2 separate regions of the Homo sapiens genome follow, and region 2 is linked to region 1. The links are contacts of gene promoters, found by promoter capture Hi-C in human tissues and cell types (Jung and others, 2019). All regions are on one chromosome and are shown on one strand. Each heading gives the region's core, a stretch centred on a gene start or on the middle of the fragment in contact. The rest is flanking DNA. Distances are from core to core; before and after follow the strand shown. Region 1 holds the start of RHEB (Ras homolog, mTORC1 binding). Region 2 overlaps GALNT11 (polypeptide N-acetylgalactosaminyltransferase 11).

What was found. The method cuts DNA at HindIII sites, captures the fragments that hold promoters and counts their contacts. A contact is called where the count stands out against the background at its distance.
Region 2: a fragment that was not itself captured here is called in contact with the fragment with the promoter of RHEB in region 1 in 2 of the 25 tissues and cell types used here (dorsolateral prefrontal cortex and spleen).

Annotation. Positions count from the first base shown.
Region 1 is chr7:151,518,075-151,521,488 of GRCh38, forward strand. RHEB (Ras homolog, mTORC1 binding) reads right to left here and starts at 1,821. Exons shown (of 8, transcript NM_005614.4): 1 at 1,386-1,821. The coding sequence starts at 1,437. RefSeq lists an enhancer at 1 and silencers at 1,032-1,141, 1,072-1,501, 1,212-1,331, 1,502-1,661, 1,832-2,181 and 1 more. The HindIII fragment of the contact is 18,818 bases long and covers 1-3,414 here.
Region 2 is chr7:152,034,887-152,038,300 of GRCh38, forward strand. The region is part of intron 1 of GALNT11 (polypeptide N-acetylgalactosaminyltransferase 11); the gene reads left to right. Among named protein-coding and RNA genes, the nearest start is that of GALNT11, 11 kb to the left of the region's middle. The HindIII fragment of the contact is 4,607 bases long and covers 1-3,414 here.

The sequences.
Region 1 (3,414 bases), core at 571-3,070:
TCATGGTTACTTCCTGGCTGCAGCTGTTAAAGCTGCCACCTATGCATCCCCTCGGATTCAGCACCGCATCGCACAAGAGTTCCCCTACGACTCTAGGCACCCCGCATCTCTAGCCAAGCTTCTTTCAGCCCTTAATTTCCCCCCGGCTCTCGACGGAGAGGTGGTAAAAGGATGAGTAAGCATGCAGTGGCTGATCTTGGTCAAAGAGCACAGACCCTGGCACAGGCGGTGGAAAGCGCAGTTGGGGAGTGCATCCAGTGAGCGGCAGGCAGGTACAAGCTTCCCATGACAGATAGTCACCCCGTTCCGCAATCACGGGAGCCTCGGAACCCTCGCTTTCACCTCCCCATCCCCTCAACTGTGGCCCGGTGCACGCCTTCTATAGACAGTTACTTCAAAACAGCCCGAAAAGATGAACTAATTTCTCCAGGCTTCCGGATGTCGGGAGACAATACAGCCTCACCCTGAAGCGTGTCTAAGTTCAATCGCTCTGGTTTCACACAGGCCAGAAAACCGCTCGTTCTGTAACACCCCGTCCGCCCCCCAACCCGACCCTAAGCCACCTTATTCAGCAATAAGGCGACTGCTAGGAACTGTTTCAAATGTATGTCAACCTTTTGGGGGAAGAAAAAGAAAACAAAAAGACTTTGGAATTACTTCAACAGCCTGGTTGCAAGTACCTGACCTTATTCCTTCCCGAACAAAAATAGGGCACCGAGAGATCAGACATTCCTTTTTCTCTGTCTTCCTACCCAGGCCGCCAGCAGCATCTCGAGGGCCTCCAGAGGGACCTCTTTTGGGGGATCGCCTAGGTTTCCTATGCAGAAAACTTGCGTTCAGTGCCCAAACGTCCTCTAAATCCCTAGTTTTCTTTACAAGGGTAAACTTCACCACAGATGGAATGAAGCCGAGGCGCTGCTTCCTTTGTTAAAATCCCACGGACTTTCTTTTCCTTACATCGGGGGCGGGGTGGGGGAGACCGCCAGCCCCGGTCACGCGCGCCCGCGGCGAAGGCGGGGAGGCAGGTGTGACTCCCTCGCGGCAGCCTCTAGCGCGGCTCCCCGGCGCCGCCTCACTTCCCCAGACGAGACCCGGACTCCTCGGCGGCCGACGGCCCCCGCCCCGCGCCTCCCACGCCCTCCGCCCGGCCGCCACCTGCCCGCCCGGCCCGCGGAGGGCGCCCAGCTACCGCGGCTCCTCCACCGGCGCGGACGCCGCCCCGACCGCCACCACCTCCGCTCAGAATGGTGGTTACGAAACGCGCGGCCCCCGCCCGCCCCGCCACATGGCCGCGCCGGCTCCAAACTTCGCAGGCCCGGCCGCGACCCGGCTCCCAGGCGAGGCCCCGGCGGCGCGAGGAGGCCGCGCGGCCACCGGCCACTCACCCACAGACCGGTAGCCCAGGATCGCGATCTTCCGGGACTTGGACTGCGGCATCTTGGCGGCCTCCTCAGCCCCGGCCCAACCACATCAACCGCGGCGGCGGTGGCTCCTGCTGCTGTGATCGGCGGCGGCCGCGCCGGGAGAGAGCGGCATACAGAGCAGGGGCGGCGGCGGGCGCGGCTGCCTCTCGCTCGCTAGCTCGCGCGCTCCCAACCGCCCGGAACCGACCGCGCGGCGGCGCCCCTCCCCCCCACAACACGCCCACGTGACCGGCCGGCGTCAGCACCGCCCCTCTTCGCGCCGTGGCCCGCCGCCTCCGCCCCCCGAAATACGCGGGGGGTGCGTCGGGGCGACGTTTTACTTTAAAGGCAAAAAAAGGGGACGCCGCGATGCCCCCAGAAAAGTCACGACTGAAACTCGCTGCGTCATGACCCTCCCACCTTCTTCCGCCGCTTTTTAATTACGCCATTCTCCCCGAGCGCCGATTGGACAGCTCCTGCACAGCCGCGCGATGACGTGTCGGAAACTCCATCTCCCATTGGGGGAAACAAGGAGGCGGGGAGGGGGGGGCGGGGCTGCCCGCCCGGGAGCTAAAAATACACCTCGCTGCTACCGCGCTGTTGGGCGCCGGCTAGGTTTGAAGGCTTCAAACTTCCAACCGGTTAGGGGCGGGCGGGAGAGGCGGAGAGACAAACGGTGGCTCCCTGGTGATTGGCCAGAACGGAGCGCAGGGCGGGGCAATAGGTGGGAGGTGCGGTGATTGGCGAAACGCTAAGCGGTTGGCGGGTTCGCGCCCGCTGAGCCCGTGAAGGGCGCGAGGCGCGTGGCCTGGGCGGGTGGGCTGGCTCCTCCCTCGGGGTTTTTTGAAAATTCTCCTTGAGCTGCGTTAGCGTTCGTGTCTGGGTTTGAGGATGTAGTGGTGACTAAGCGTCACCGACGGCCGAAGGACTGTGGGAAGCATGGAGTCTGCGTTAATTCAAAGTGTTAGGAATTTCATTAAAAACAGGGCGAGCCTCGTCAGTTCTGGTGTCCGCTTCGCTTCGCGCGGAGCTCGGCGCACCTCCTGGAACAGCGCCGGGGCGGGAAGCCGGTTCTCCGCCAGCACCGGGGCGGCTGGTGCGGCGGGCAGGCCCGAGCCGGGTGCCAGGAACGCCTCGGGCCGCGGTGTGGACGGGCGGAGACCGTGGTGTGGGCACAGCCTTCCCAGGGGTGCAGTGCAGAGGGGCGCGGGAAGGGAAGCCCGGCCGGGAACGCAGGTGCCGTTGAGGGACCAGCCTGCAGGCAGGCCCGGCGTGGTGGCTGCTGGAGGGCTTGGCACTTGCCGAGTTAGCAGAGACTCCGCCGCGCCGGGGAACCCGCCCCTATTCTGCCCAGGCTGTTTGGCAGTGGGGACCTGCAGAGGCCGGGCATGGCCCTTCGCCCTTTGCCAGTGATCGGTGGGGAGGAATGAAGCCAGGGGAAGCTGAGTGGCAGGCCTTGTATTCCAGCGTAGGAAGGTTTAGAGGTGACTGGAGTCGACTTGGAACACCCAACCCAAGAGCGACTCCCTCCAGCTTTCCCACGGAAGCACTCCGATGAGGGGCTGGGGTGTGCATTCTTGTCCTCGGGGATCTACAGATGGAAGCCCCAGGCAGCCAGCCAGAAGTGATCAATGTCTGGAAGTTCTATGTTTCCATGAAATGTTGAGGTTTACGCTATAGTTATTTTAAGTATTTTAAAATAAAGGTCTTAAAATGCACTCTCCTGTAAAATGTGTCGTTTTTATCCTGTGGATTCGGATACCCTCACCACGGTGTTTTTGAACAGATGCTACTAAATTCCTTGCATTATAAAATCAGTTTAGTTTTACCTTTTTTTAAAAAAAATAGAACAGAATAGAAAACTGCGTTATGCATAGTAAGGGTAAGTATGTGTCCTCATTAGTACAGTGGTGAGTTAAAAAAATGAGTAAGGGTAAGTTTGTGTAAGTGCACGTGTAGATATATATGTTTATAGATATGCTATATATGTATTATTGCATGTTGGGATTTA
Region 2 (3,414 bases), core at 518-3,017, 520 kb after region 1:
GGACCGAGAAAAATTGGATTTAGTGGCCCTTACTGATGCATTCTCGAAAACCTGTTAGGGTCCTAAGCATTCTCCAGTTAGTATTGGGACTTTACCCCTCCTGTAAAGATGTTATGCCCCAAAAATGAAGTGGAGGGCCATATCCTGAGGGAGGGGAGGGATCTCCAGAGTTGGAAGAGTGATGCCTTTTTGTCCGCACTTATATGAATACAAGAATGTCATTTCTGAAGCTCCCCGTATCCTAGCTTCTGGAATAGCTTTTGTTAGGCCTGCTAGTCTGAGGAGGGATCCTAAAATTCCGGATAAGACAGTCCCCCACCCTGATGGGGCTTTGGGCAAAAATTATGTCTTTCTAATTGGTGAGCCCGGGTGCCTAAAGAAGGTTAACAGAGTCCTGGAGTTTATACTAGAAATGATTCTTACAGGAGAAACTAGAAAAGCACCAGAGACAGGGAGTGGTTTCCAGAAGCGGGACTAGCCTCAGAGAAGAGAGGCAAGAGAAAGTTTTTCTGACAAGCATTAGGACCCAGGAGGCAAGGGTCAGGATAGGTAGGATAGATGGGCGAGTCTCGCTTGGGCAACATGACTTCGAGAGTTCTGCTCATGGCCACAGGGTCAACCAACTTGTTGTCAGGACCCCGGAGCTGAATGGCTTTCCTCTCTGTCGACCCTCGGCTCAGCCCGGAAGTACAGGAAAAGCGGAAAGCTGGTTCCAGGCAAACCAACACTCCCAACTCCGAAGAGTCAGGGGTTGTTAGAGAGCCCTATCCCGGAAAGCCTGACACCCGTGTCTTTAGTCCAGCGGCTGTGCTAGTCAGTTTTAACTGGCCGCTAGTCACTTTTAACTGGCCGACAGGTGCCTGGTATTTAGCCACCGAATTCTAAGGGAAAACAGGACAGAATAGCAAGTGAAAGGGGTCAGATGGTACTCACTGCTTGGCAATAGCGTCAGCCCCAAGTGAGGATGGGGAAGGGGTTTTACAGTCCTCTATAAGCAGGAATTGTCCCAGTCTGATGTGGCTGCTGCGTAGTGCCCGCTGGCCTCCCTCTTGATCTTCAGGGGGTGTCTTCTGCCCAGCTCTCTTCTTGCTTCTGCTAACTTGCTGATGCATGCTGCTGGCGCAACTGTCCTTGCGCATTTGGACTGGGCTTGAAGAGGGAGGAAGTATTCATTCCCTTAAGCTTTCAGGCTTGGGGGAGAATCTTTCACAACCCAATGATACTCTTTTAAAGTTACTTTAAAATGTGCAATAAAGTTTTGTTGACTGTAGTCATGCTGTTGTGCTATCAAATACTAGATCTTATGCATTCTATTTAACTATATTTTTGTATACATTAACTGTCTCTCCCCTCACTCCCTTCTCAGCCTCTGGTAACCATTATCTAGTCTCTCTCTCCGTGAGTTCAATTGTTTTAATTTTTAGCTTCCACAAATAAGTGACAACAGGCAAAGTTTGTCATTCTGTGTACCTGGCTTATTTTACTTAACATAATGACCTCCAGTTCTATCCCTGTTGTTGCAAATGATGGGATCTCATTCTTTTTTTATGGCTGAATAGTACTCCATTGTGTATATGTACCATGTTTTCTTTATCCATTCATTTGTTGATGGACATTTAGGTTGCTTCCATATCTTGGCTATTGTGAACAGTGCTGCAGGAAACATGAGACTGCAGACCTCTTTGGTATACTGATTTCCTTTCTTTTGGGTATATACTATGAGTGGGATTGCTGAGTCACGTGGTAGCTCTATTTTTAGTTTTTGGGGATCCTCCAAACTGGTCTCCATAGTGCTTGTACTAATTTACATTCCCACCAATGGTGTATGAGGATTCCCTTTTCTCCACATCCTCACCATCATTCATTATTGCCTGTCTTTTGGATATAAGCCATTTTAACTGGGGTGAGATGATATCTCCTTGTAGTTTTGTTTTGCATTTCTCTGATCAGTGATGTTGATCACCTTTTCATACACCTGTTTGCTATTTGTATGTCTTATTTTGAGAAATGTCTATTCAGACCTTTGCTCATTTTTTAATAGGATTATTAGATTTTTTTCCTATAGCATTGTTTGAGTTTCTTATGTATTCTGGTTATTCATCCCTTGCCAGATGGATAGTTTGCAAATACTTTCTCCTGGTCTCTAGGTTTCTCTTCACTTTGTTGTTCCTTTGTTGTACAGAAGCTTTTTAACTTGATGTGATACCATTTGTCCATGTATGCTGTGGTGGGGTATTACTCCAGAAATCTCTGCCTAGTTCAATGTTCTGGAGATTTTCTCCAGTGTTTTCTTTTAGTAGTTTCATAGCTTGAGGTCTTAAGTCTTTAATTCATTTCAATTTGATTTTTGTGTATAGTGAGAGATAGGGATCTAGTTTCATTCTTCTGCATATGTATATCGAGTTTTCGCAGCACCATTTATTGAAGAGACTCTCCTTTTCCCAATGTATGTTCTTGGCACTTCTGTCAAAAATGAGTTCGCTGTAGATGTATGGATTTGTTTCTGGGTTCTCCATTCTGTTTCATTGGTCTGTGTGTCTGTTTTTATGCTGGTGCCATGCTATTTTGGTTACTATAGCTCTTTAGTATAATTTGAAGTTGTAATTTGGGGTTAGATAATGTGAAGTCAAGTAATGTCATTCCTTCAGTTCTGTTGTTTTTGCTCAGATAGCATAGGCTATTCTGGGTCTTTTGTTATTCCATATAAGTTTTAGGATTTTTTTTTTCTATTTCTGTGAAGAATGTCTTTGGTTCATTGGTATTTTGATAGGGATTGCATCGAATCTGTAGGTTGCTTTGGGTGGTGTGGACATTTTAACAGTATTGATTCTTCCAGTTGGTGAATGTGGAACATCTTTCTTTTTGTGCGTGCATGTCTTCAATTTTTTTTTTCCTTCCTTTTGAGAGAGTCTTGCTTTGTCACCCAGGTTGGAGTGCACTGCTGTGATCTTGGCTCACTGCAACCTCCACCTCCTGGGTTCGCATGATTCTCCTGCCTCAGCCTCCTGAGGAGCTGGGATTACAGTTGCCCACCACCACACCCGGCTAATTTTTGTAATTTTAGTAGAGATGGGGGTCTCTCCATGTTGGTCAGGCTGGTCTCGAACTCCTGACCTCAGGTGAGCTGCCTGCCTCAGCCTCCCAAAGTGCTTGGATTACAGGTCTGAGCCACTGTGCCCAGCCCGTCTTCTTCAATTTCTTTTATCAGTATTTTATAGTTTTCATTGCAGAGATCATTCACTGCCGAGACCAGCTGGGTCATGGAGACCCTTACCCAGCGGCGCTAGAGGAATTAAAGACACACACACAGAAATATAGAGTGTGGAATGGGAAATCAGGGGCCTCACAGCCTTCAGAGCTGAGAGCCATGAACAGAGATTTACCCACATATTTATTGACAGCAAGCCAGTCATA